Regions from separate parts of the Homo sapiens genome. Here region 2 is linked to region 1. Evidence: promoter capture Hi-C in 16 types of primary human blood cells and fetal thymus (Javierre and others, 2016). All regions are on one chromosome and are shown on one strand. The core of a region is centred on a gene start or on the middle of the fragment in contact, and the rest is flanking DNA. Distances in the headings are between cores, read along the strand shown. Region 1 holds the start of RPL37A (ribosomal protein L37a). Region 2 overlaps COPS8 (COP9 signalosome subunit 8).

What was found. The method cuts DNA at HindIII sites, captures the fragments that hold promoters and counts their contacts. A CHiCAGO score of 5 or more calls a contact.
Region 2: a fragment that was not itself captured here is called in contact with the fragment with the promoter of RPL37A in region 1 in 1 of 17 cell types (total B cells); the score reaches 6.4 in total B cells.

What each region holds. Positions count from the first base shown.
Region 1 is chr2:216,495,150-216,501,396 of GRCh38, reverse strand. It overlaps RPL37A (ribosomal protein L37a), which reads right to left and starts at 2,553. Exons shown (of 4, transcript NM_000998.5): 1 at 2,520-2,553; 2 at 1,999-2,127; 3 at 1,366-1,448; 4 at 1-56. The coding sequence starts at 2,522. It overlaps RPL37A-DT (RPL37A divergent transcript), which reads left to right and starts at 2,645. Exons shown (of 4, transcript NR_183317.1): 1 at 2,645-2,790. RefSeq lists enhancers at 2,477-2,866, 3,047-3,136 and a silencer at 5,239-5,308. The HindIII fragment of the contact is 3,327 bases long and covers 403-3,729 here.
Region 2 is chr2:237,087,571-237,093,817 of GRCh38, reverse strand. It overlaps COPS8 (COP9 signalosome subunit 8), which reads right to left. Exons shown (of 8, transcript NM_006710.5): 3 at 5,165-5,213; 4 at 3,824-3,956. Among named protein-coding and RNA genes, the nearest start is that of COPS8, 4.8 kb to the right of the region's middle. The HindIII fragment of the contact is 1,648 bases long and covers 3,448-5,095 here.

The sequences.
Region 1 (6,247 bases), core at 1,304-3,803:
CTTTCAACTCCTTCAGTCTTCTGATGGCGGACTTTACCGTGACAGCGGAAGTGGTACTGGAAAGAAAGATTCAGTTTCCAACATAATTAAGCATGTTAACATAGAAAATGGCAAATAAGTAAATCTGCCTCGTTTTTGTGTTAAAGTCGCTTCCCAAATTTTCCTAGAAAGAATTATACTGAGATAGACTGCTCTACCAATACTTTGCTGCAGTCAATCCAAAGATCTAACCAACATTAGATTACTCCTCGGAAATTAGTGGCTTCTAAACTACATGATGGCATCCTTTAAGAGCCATGCCTTCAGGATCTTGCAGAATTAGACATACAATCTCATGCATCTGATTTCTCAACCAGAGTTGCTTTTTTTTTTATAAGTAACTCAGTTGTGGACAAGCAAGCTTTAACTCCCCCTACCCCATCCCATGAAAAAGAAATGGTTCTAAGAGGCTGACCTAAACTTATTAAAAGGGAATGGACAGATTACAAGAAATGAATAAATTACAAGATGATACAGTGAGAACAATGATTAAGGAAATAAGAGCGGACACTAAAGTGCCTTTGGGAAAGACAGCTATTGAAATGACTACAAAAGTTTTACCATAAAATTCAGGAACTATACCTGAAAATCACCATCCTGTATTGTAAGTATATAAATAATTCACTTTCCTATCAGAACCAAGAAAGCACTCTAGTTCCCATTTTCCATTCTGCCCTAATAAAAACCCCCACAAGGAATATATATATATTTCAACATTTTCCACTGCTTCGGTTTAAGTTTAAATTGACTGAAACTTTAAAATCCAATTCTTTAATTACACTAGCCATATATGTGCTTAGTGTATTGGACAACACAGGTCTAGATGCTAGTTTGTAGTATAGTGTTTGTAGTATCGCCCTGTCAGGTGATACTGAGTTGCAGATTCACAAACCTGCAGCAGTCTAATACTGTTCAGAAAGACGAAACTGTGGTGGTCCTGATGGCCTCAAGTTCCAAATACAGTTTTGAACTAACTGACCCCTTCACCTATTTTTATCAAAACTTGCAGTGCAAATCAACGTTCAGTAGATTCAGCCCCACTAATGGACCTGCACAGTATCATGACAATGTTCACAACAATGTGCCCAGTGACCATCAAATTCTAAAGTAGTCTGTGAATTAGATTTCCGACTTCTATTTTGGTAGTTTTGTGTTTACTCTTTCAATAACTGAAAATAAACCACCACGGAAGAATCCTGAAAATACAAAGGCATCCTTATTCTCTCAGTCCTGAGAAAGTGTTAAAACTAGCCCATCCAGCAGCAACCTGGAATTTGGGCCTATGTGGTCCACACACTTCCAAATACCACAAGGAACTAGACTCACTTGTACGTCCAGGCACCGCCAGCCACTGTCTTCATGCAGGAACCACAGTGCCAGATCCCCACAGCTCGTCTCTTCATCTTGGTCTATAAAAGAGAACCAATTTTCACTATGAACCAAGTAAGTATTTTCTCTTACAAGCATCCAGAAGTCTAAATTTGGATTCACCTTATTGTCAGGGATGTGAAAGCCTCCCTTTCTCCCTCAAAAACAAAACAGGGATTGCTGTAATGCAGTATTTTGCACATAAACGTTCAAACCTTTATCAAACAAAAATCCCTCGCAGAACAAGTAGAATGGTATTAGATGCACAGACATCTTGGGAGTTGGTGCAGAAACATCAGTAGACAAAACTGATGGAATCATTTCCCACAAAGCAGGTTTGGCTTAGGCTGGGGGCACTCTGTCAAATGATTATTTTACCCATTAACGTTTAAGCGGTTTTCTTTAAATGAAAAACGTCTCACAAAATCTGAAGTTACCATCAACACTTTTATCTTAAAACTCATAATCAACGGTATGAGTAATTCCAACTGCCCACCAGCACACGGCTTATAAAATACCTTGAAGTCAGGCCTCACTTGGGTAAGAAACCTGCCCTCCCTCTCCTCTCACCAGAGACTTTGCCTTACTTACTTTGCCACAGAAAGAGCAAGTGTACTTGGCGTGCTGGCTGATTTCAATTTTCTTCACCATTTTCCGGAGGGAGGCCCCATAGCGGGTCCCGTATTTACCGACGATCCCGACTTTCTTGGTACGTTTGGCCTGTTTAGAGTGAAGGGAGAAACCAGTGATAGACCTGGAACCCAGGCAGGCCCTGGAGCCTCCACACACCGTTCCTCCACCTCACTGACGTGTGACCGACATGTGAATTACATATGACCTAGTTTTCCCTAAATTCAACCCAACGAAACCAGTGCCCAGGGCTGGCCGCGCGCTCCGAAGGCCCGGCGTTAACCCGGCTGGAGCGCGCCAGGCCCAGCCAAGGCGCCCCCGCCCCTCCGCCTTGGGGAGCTTCCGACAATGGTGTCTCCTGCAAAGGCATGGAGACAGGAGAGAACACGGGGTAAGGCAGGAGAGGAGATGGGTGCGGGAGAAGAAAACAAGGACAGATGCAGGCAGATAGAGTTCTAGGCCGCACAGAGACCCACACTCACCATGTCGCCGCGACCTAGGTCCGAGCCCAGAAAGGAAGAGACGCGGTGCGCAGGCGCGGTATTAGGCGGACGAGCGGAAGTGGCTGGTAGAGGCCTAGCTAGGAACTGAGCTCTATGGTTTGGGCGTTTTCAGGCGGCCTCCTGAGAAATGTTTGCAATTGTAAGGCGTCTCTCTCATCCAGGTTTACCCAGATTCGCAAACTATGGCGACAAACAACCATAGCAGAAGCATGTCCGGATTATTTCACATATATCACAAAATCCTGCAAAGGTACGAGTTCCTCCATTCGATGCACAGCACTTGGCTTGGAGAAGTGCATAAATCTTACATTTGTGGGGCCGGGCGCGGTGGCTCACGCTTGTGATTCTAACACTTTGGGAGGCGGGGTGGGTCAGGAGTTCGAGACCAGCCTGGCCAGCAGGGTGAAACCCCGTCTCTATTCCAAATCTCATTTATTTCCCCCTCTGCATTATGCTCTCTAAAAGTGGCTGACTGTGCAGGATGCTAGCGACAGTGGTGACTAAAATCCAAGGTTCCATTCCCAGAACAAGTTGCAGGCCAGCTGCAAACGATCATATAGCCACATTAAGAAGTTAGACAGTTTCAAACTGGTCAGAGTTCTGAAGGAAAGGACGATGGTTCTGCTCGCGACTAATTCAGAAGAGCCTGGTGTTTCCTGAGGAAAGTCTGAGATTGGAAGGCTGGGGAAAAGTTAACAGTCACCTTGGAGTTTTGTGTTCCAGCTGCTGCATCTCAGTGCGGATGGCCTGCCTTCCACTTCATTTCAGAACTCACTTCCATGGCCCCACACTAGGCTGTTAAGACAGCTTCCTGGTCCAGGCCTGAACCCTTAAACTCCAACATCTTACCCTTTACCCACCGTCAATTCTCTGTCCCTCCAGGTCTCTCAAAGGGGTCAGCAGGGAAGAATTGGATTTCTGGTTGAGGCCGGGGGTGGGGAGGGTGTGTTCTGGAACTAGACACATGATCTTCTTTCTTCACGTAGAACACACACACTAGGAAGTTTGGTTGCCTTTTTTCAGGGGATGGCTAATCCAGAGAATAAGAAGCTCAGAAAACTACTGGAATAAGAGTGTAAGAGAGAATCCATGATTAGAGGGCCAAGAAAGACCATGGGAGCTGAAAGGCATTGTGTGGCCCTGATTCCAATCAGAAGTCCGGTAACAAGTAGCTTCCGTTCCCAAAGCTTAATATTAACTGTCTCAAATAATTTTGCACCTGTTCACTTTTCCTCACAATTGTATTAAAGTCAACTTGCATACCTGGGCTGAGGTGGGAAGATCATTTGAGCCTGGGAGGTTGAGGCTGCAGTAAGCTGTCATCACGCCACTGCAGTCCAGCCTGGACAACAGAGTGAGACTCTGTCTCAAAAAATATATATGAATCAAATCAAATCAAAGCAACTTGCAAACAGCTATGTACTTCATATGGTTACAATTGTTGGAGGGTAACACATGGTAGGCACTGAGTATTTTATGTGGATGTTCTCATTTAATTTTCCATTATCCTTTATGATAGGAATGATTATTATCTTCATTACTAAGAAAAAGAGAGGAAGTCTCATGTAATGATTAGGAACTTAGAGGCTCTGGATTCAGTATGGGTTCAAAACAGAACTCTGCTATTTACCAGCTGTGGGACCTCTGACAAGTTATTATATACTTTTCTTTCTTTTTTCTTTTTCTTTTTTTTTTTTTTTTTTTTTTTTTTTTGAGACAGAGTCTCTCTTGGAAAAGATTCTTTGAGACCAGGAGTTCTAGGCAGCCTGGACAATATAGCGAGACCCCATCTCCACACACACAAAAAAATAATAGGCCAGGTATGGTGACACACATCTGTGGTTCTAGCTGCTCAAAAGGCTGAAACGTGAGGATTGCTTGAGCCCAGGAGTTCAGAGGTTACAGTGAGCTATGATCACACCATTTCACTCCAACCTGGACAACAGAGTGAGATCCTTTCTCAAAACAAAAACAAAAAAAGAAAGAAAAAAGAAACTCATCTCAGGGAAGTTAAGAAACTTGCTCAATGTCACACAGCAATTAGAACTCAAATCTGGTCTGTCTGATCCCAAAGTTAGTTCTCCTAATTGCTAGCTTGTACTACGCCAAATCATAATATTTAGTGCACTGAAAAAGCACATCAGAAAACATAGTTGAATTAAAATCAGGTCCCTGGCACTCAGTCTGGGCCAGGATCTGTAACTACCTTGTGGTTTGACTTTAGGTAAGCCACAGTCCCCACATGGAGAACCACCTCCCCACCTCCCAGCAGCCACCATCTTTATTTACAAGGAGCTGGACCAGGTGGTCTTCAAGGTCCTGTCCAGTTCTTCCCTCCTATGATTCCAGGAAGAGCTTCCAGACTTTGAGTGCCACTGGGGCAGTGACCCACCATGTGCTTTATGTCAGCACATCTTGCACAATTTTGTGGAATAAAGGTAGTTGTCTCTTTATCCTCCCCAATCTGTTATTCCAGCTCTGGCTGTGTAAATTCAAGGAGGAGAAAAAGCAAAAAGTAGTGGATAGTGGGAATAGTCAAATTGATTTTTGCATACATTTTTTGCATTTTCTAATTATCTTTTATAATGAGCATGTGTTTCTTTTATAATCTAAAAAAACTACCATTAAAAAAAAAACCCCAAACATCTCCAGTAACGACGAGTATACCTACTGCCCCAGATCTCAGGGTTTGTTTTTATTTGTTTTGTTTTGTTTTGAGACAGGGTCTTGCTCTGTTCCCCAGGCTGGTGTGCAGTGGTGTGATCACAGCTCACTATAGCCTTGACCTCCCCAGGCTCAAGCAGTCCTTTCACCACAGTCTCCTGAGTAGTGCCCAAATAATTTTTTTATTTTTGTAGAGACAGTCTTGCCATGTTGCCCAGGCTGGTCTGGAACTCCTGGGTTCAAGCAATCCTCCAGCCTCAGTCTTCCAGAGTGCTGGCATTTCAGGCATGAGCCACCATGCCCAGACCCCAGATCTTGGTTTATAATATCATTCTTTAATAAAAGGAACCAGGGCCCCTTAGAGAAGTGACTCATTCTAGGACTGCAGCAGGAAATATACAAGGCGAGCCTGCAGTATCTTGTGCCAGAAAGTAAGGAAATGTTCAGAAAACCCTACACTGATGGGGATATGTCAGAGAGACACAGGAGTCAACTGAAAGAACTCCGAATGGCCAAAGCTAGAAAATTTTGAGCAATAAATAAGGTAGTATTGATTTAACCCAAGTGTAAAATAAATATCCATGGGTCCATGTGGATATAAATAAATGATAGACTAAATAAATGAAAGACAAGAGGCAACTCTCTTTTGCAGAAGAATTTATTTTTTCTTTTTTTGAGACCGAGTCTTGCTCTGTCGCCCAGGCTGGAGTGCAGTGGTATGATCTGGGCGCACTGCAACCTCTGCCTCCTGGGTTCAAGCAAGTCTCCTGCCTCAGCCTGCTGAGCAGCTGGGACTACAGGCATGCACCACCACACCCAGCTAATTTTTGTATTTTTAGTAGAGACGGGGCTTCACCATAACGGCCAGGCTGGTCTTGAACTCCTGACCTCGTGATCCACCCTCCTCGACCTCCCAAAGTGCTGGGATTACAGGTGTGAGCCACTGCACCCGGCCAAGAAGAATTTCAAATAATTTATGTGGATATTCTGCTCTCAAGGAGGGTGAGCATAACTCCCCACTCCCTAAGTGTGGGCTGCACAGA
Region 2 (6,247 bases), core at 3,022-5,521, about 21 Mb before region 1:
GGCTCTAACCCTAAGAAAATGCAGTATGTTTATGCAATGGGGATATAAATTTTACTTATCTTATTTCATTTACAAATGCTGGAATCAAAGGAGCAGAAAACTGATTTGCGTAATCAGCTGTCCTTTTCAAAAACGTCTCTAATACAGGACCACACCTGGGAGTTACAGAACAAATCTTGTAACTGGAGCATTCTTCCAAGTCTGCATCAAACTCTTGACTGAATTAAGGTTCAAAATCCTAAATTCCCACCTTGAAAGAATGACTCTAAGAAGGGACTGCCAAACAATACCAGCAACGAAAACTTTCCTGAAAGTGGCATTTAGGATTGTCCCCAGGCTTCCATACCCAATTAAATAAACTCAGGAGTACGGTAGAGTTGAGCACTGTGAAACCAGCTGGCCTTTCTCCCTGGGCATTGCTCATTGGTAATGCAAGAGCTCCTCCACCTGGTGGTCAACATGCTTAGGAAATATTCTGGATTTTACTTTCCATATTTAATAGGCCAGTGTACATATGTAAAACAAACACCCTAACATATTTAAAATCTTCTCTCCATTCCTGGGACATTGTCAAACTACACCAATTCCCCCAGATACCCTTTGTGCCAAACGAGTCCACTGGCTCTCAGACAAGTCTTACACCTTCTCCCCCTGGGGCTTTTGGTTTATGCTATCCCGTGGCCTGAAATGCCCTCCTGTCTGCTCTCTACCATTCCTAAGTCTGTTTATAATTCATTACGATCTCTGCCCTTCTCTAAACTCAGCAGTATTGTTTACACTTCTACTTTAACAAGCAACTTTCCACTACGGCAGACACTGTTCCACCTATCCCCTTCTTTTCAATTATATTCCAAACTTCTCGACAGGAAGGGGTATCTCTTATCCTCAAAGTCCCCCAAACACCTAGCATCTCCAGTGAAATATATGCCAAATACATGCTTGTTGATGGCATCACGAGGACCAAAATGGGGCACGACTCCAACACTTAGGCTTTGTTTTCTCAGATTCCTTAAAAACTGCCGACACTCCCATCCCTTCCCCTCATCTGAGCCCGACATCCTCTCCAGCTTTCACTCAGCCACTGTCTGCTCTTCCTTCTGTGGCTTTACACTTATTATTGTAGGTTCCTTCCTTCCTTCAACCAGCCTGTAACCTAACAGACTTTGCAATACCAAGAAACGTTTTCTATTAAGGCTGCATACATTCAATGGAAAAGAACTGAGCCAACAATGGAAAAGAGCCAACAATGGAAAGTATACTTTTTTTTTTTAGAGAAGTAAAAGTATACACCATAAAACTATATTCATTTGGTAAGTCAACTGTATTTCAAAAACATTTACTTCAGTTCAAATATTCTGGCCATATTTTCAGAGTGGGGAATAAAACAGGAATACAGTAAGAATGGAGGAGATAAAAGGGAGAGAAAAGTAAAAAGATATCACTGGAAAAGGAAAGAAAAACATGTGATGGGAGAAGTGAGTTGACAAAGCAAAAATAAAGGCTAAGTGTTCTCTGTCTCAGAAGCTGCAATATCCACTTGGCACGAATCACATCTACATTCCGACTAGTCACTCTGTGATCCTCAAGTTGTGAAATCTGTAACCTCAGGCCCTAGAATGACACGCTGGAAGGTGGAATAAATTGAGCCAGCACCTAATATCTGTGGCAGTAGTTGATGGAACACATTTTTGGTGAAAACAAATGCTAACAGAATGCAAACTCAGTTGTTCAACAAATACTCAAGTGCTGCTCATCCATCACTGCCAGTGCTGGAGACAGAAGGGAAGATGAACTAGTCACTCCCATCCTTTCGAATCCTCTTCTGTCTTTCCCAGCCATGCTGTGTGCCAGGGAGGTTGGCCGCCAATGCCTGTTGCACCTGAGCTCTCTTGCTTTGGCGAATTGGGGCTCTATCAGGTCAGAGGCTGGGAAGGAAGGTCAGGGAATTCACTTCCTATGCCCTTTCCCTGCCTTGCTCCAGCTGACCTTCTGTATCCATCCTGTGGGGCAGCCCCAGTAACACTGGCCCCTCGCCTTGCCCTTTCAAGCCTCAGATGAGAATGGCTACTGTCTACCTAGTTTCTAAGTACTTCCTCAGCCCTTGTTTCCTGCAAAAATAGTTTTCACTAGCTTCTCTTAAGTCATTTTCAGTTTTCTAATAGGACTGTGCCTAATTTAGAAGAGAATGGAAAGAGATCTAAGAAAGTGATTGTTCTCAACTAGAAAATAAGTTTCTAATAAGTTAAGAAGCAAAATGTTAAATTCATCAGTAAGACCAATCTGTTAAGAGACTATCCTGACCTGGCTGCATTTTACAAAGGAAACCACAGTACCATTCATGAATCTGGAGATTTGTAAAAGTCTCAGGATATGTTCAGGAATACTGTAGTGCTTTAGAATAAGGTACATGTTTATATATTAACTCATTTACAACCTGAAAAAGTACTATTTCTAATCACATTTCACAAATGAGGAAAATAAGACACTGAGGAGTCACCCTAGTAAGTGACAGAATCAGAATTTGAACTCCGGAAGCAAGGACCCAGAGCTTAAACTCCCGCATGGTACGCTATATAGCCTTTCCTGGGTCTACTGAACTGCTTGCCAGGAATTCTCAATCTCATGGAATTCAGTGAGAGGCGGCTCCGGGAAGGAATAAAACTACGGACCCGACGGTGCACAAGAGAATGCTTGCTGAACGAGTAAGGAGTTCCCAAGCCCAGTCCTGCCAATCAACCCGCTGTAAAACACTGGGAAAAGGCACATGGCCTGTGACCGCCCCACCACAATCACAAGGCTGAATCACGAGGATACTATGGAAGTCCACTATAACGCTAATTCCTCAGGGCTTATATGAAGAGGTTTCTGGTGCTACTTTCTGAAACTGCCCCTGCTGTACCTGTGCAATCTTCTTCCACACTCCTCCCTTCCCATCTATCTGCCTGCCTTAGGACTCTGCTCATTTCATTCACATTTAAAGTAGCTGCCTCCTGTTCTGTCACTTACATTGTTATGTTTTATGCTGCTAAGAATTTTACCATTCCAAGGGAATTATGTGCATTTCAGAAACAATCTCTGCTGTCTGCTGCCCTGTAAAGCTGATATCCCTTAGCAGAGTGATGAACAGTTATTAAAAAAATTCCTGCTCACTGACTTCCTCCACAGCAGGAAGGCATACAGTGAAGGTGGATATTAACTATGGAAGTAAGGGTAACAATAAGAAATAACAGTACATGACAACATAAAACAAGATTATATAATTTTATAAAGAGTGAACCAGGAGGACTGGAAGCAAATGCTAGGGGTGAGAGACTGTAGAGAGGCAGGGAATGAGATTTTATTGTGGGATCAGTGCTCTGTCACACCAGGCTTGTAATCTTTCAAAGCAATTAAAAACACATTTGAGCATCTATGTATTAAACTGATAAATTATAAAATCCAGAAGCTTAAGACAACACCTATCAAAGGCTGAGGCTGACAAAATTCAAAGAGCAGTCTCTATTTTCACATCTCTACAAACCCATACCTTAAACTTATTAGAATATTACAAGATCTCGTTTTAATAGCAAAAAAAACTCTTAAAACTGACGAGCAATTTCTGTCTAGAATTAAGAAACAACAAAAGCACAGCAGCCAATGTAATCTCAAGCAACAAAAAATGAAGAAGCATGATTAGGGCAAATCTAAAAAATTCTGAAAACTGCTCTTTTCACCTATCAAAAATATCTACTTAAACACACACCACTGATTTATTACTTCAACACTGCAGCACTTAGGGACTAAGTCTCATCTAATTTCATTTTTAACCACAAAGAAACACTACCTCTAAGTGCTTCCATAATTGGCTGGACCGTCTCAGACCACTGGTGAGCGTTGATGGTTGTATAGATCCCAGGGAAATCTCTCTGCCAGATTCTTTGTCCTACTGACCAAATTCCCCCAAGTTCAGAATTTGCCTGCAATAAATATTATTGCCTTAGAGGGTATTCACTCTGTAAATGCACCAATGATTGTATCTTAAAACAAAATACCAGAAATGATATAAAAACTTGTTAGCTACATCATTAAAACCTAATTCAACATTTATTTTAAAAGATGCAATTACTTTTTCAGCCCAATCACTATCAAAAGGTTTTTAAACACTATGAGCAGTAAGGTAAAATTTATCTGTAGGGCTGATATAAATTTATTACAATAGCAAATTAAGGCATGAGAAAGTAGTCAAAAAACATTTCAGAATTAAGCCTGGGGACTAATTAGCTTAAGGATTGTTTTTAAAGATGTTGTATTTGTATTTCATAGATATATTATGAATATATATTTAGGTCAAAAGTAATAGCAAAATGGTTAACAATAGAGACTCTCAATCTAAGATGTCATACATTGTAGCCTCTCTAAGGATTGAGTTTCCACTAACGCCATTGAAACTTATGTGCATGATTTATAGTACTTCTTTATTTAGCCAAAGAAGCTGAGGAATATTCCAATCTTACTTAACAGAACAGAATGTATGAGGGAAAAAAAAAGAGTAAAAATACTAATCCGATCTCTTGATGAATATCAATAAACAAAAGTTTAGATGAATTCTTGGTAATATCCCGAGAATGTTAAAAATTTCACTTGACACTCATGTTAGACACATGGAATCATTTGACATTAAAATTTTACTTCATTCCACTTTGGAAGAACCTTTTCACAGGCTATTTCTTCTAATCTCCCAACCAAAATAAGAAATTTAAAATCCTAATTAACAAAAATAATCTTATTGCTGTCAATCATTCTTAGAGTATTCTTGTAAACGATGGCAGTTTCAAAATAAGTACCATTATAGGAAGCAACATAAACCAGCTGAAAATCACCTCAGCTGCCTCCGCCACCTCCAGGAGCTTCCTTCATCTAAACTGGCTCAGCTGTTTAACTAGGGAAGCTGCACATAAAAGCGTCTCAAGAAATCTAATCAGTAGGAACTGAGCAGAAATTCTACACCATCCCAGCAAAATTCAAATTTCTGATTAGAGGACTCTGAAGATTTATTTCGAATCCTTAATACCAATCTGATGACTATTACTAGGACGTCAGATAGAAAACATAAGCTTATAAAAGGTTGCCATTTAAGGGAATGTCATTACATTAAAGCAGTAAAATAGGTTTAAAGGATACTTACAGATTTTATAGCAGGTGGTATTCTTTTCCAAAGATATCTTGCATTATTCCTAATTTACGCCACCACAAAGAAGAATAATCAATTAAAAACATAATCATCTCAGGAAATGTTAAAAACTACCAGGTCCCAAGCCAAACATACAGAAGTATACTTCACATAACACAAAGTAAAATTTAGTTTTATATGAATTTGTTTTGGGGAAACAATAGTGGTTTTCCAGATAAAAAGGACATGAAATATTTTTACCAAAGTAATATTTTGCCATTTCTAGTGAATTTTTTAAAAATAATAATCCATATCCTAAATTTAGGCAACAGCACACTAAAAACACGAGGATTTATAGACGGCCCAAATTATTTATTAGGATATAAAAGTAAACAAATTTATGTACTATCAAGGCTGTAGCATTCCCTGACAATAAGCCTGGTACACAACACTTCTCTCCCGATTACAGCCCCTCCTACCAGTGGGACACAGCTTCTGAGGCAGGAGTTTTTATGGGTTTGGAGGCTTGAACTACAACAAACATATAATGACAGTTTTACAAAACAAAAACAAAAACCTTACATATGTGTAATAAAAATTTCAATTTAGTTTTTAAAAAGATATAAAAGAAAGGTTTTGGAAGAGTTTAAAATAAAATGTTATCAGGAATCATCAGTGAGTCACAGAACTATAGGAGACTTTTTTTTTTTTTTTTTGCAGTTATGCTTTCCTTTTGAGACAGGGTCTCACTTTGGTTGCTCAGGCTAGAGTGCAGTCGCGCAATCTTAGCTCACTGCAGCCTTGACTTTCTGGGCTCAGGTGATTCTCCCCACCTCAGCCTCCCAGGTAGCTGGGATTAGAGGCACACGCAACCATGCCCAGCTAATTTTTTGTATTTTTAGGACAGACGGGGTTTCACTATATTCCCCAGGCTGGTATCAAAACTCCTGGACTCAAGCCATCCACTTGCCTTGGCCTCCCAGAGTGCTGGGATTACAGGCGTGTGCCACGGCGCCCGGCCTAGAGTAGTTATGCTTTCTGACTTTTCCATGTGAACGTGAAATAGGAATAATTAAAAACAAAAAAAACTTAAAAAAT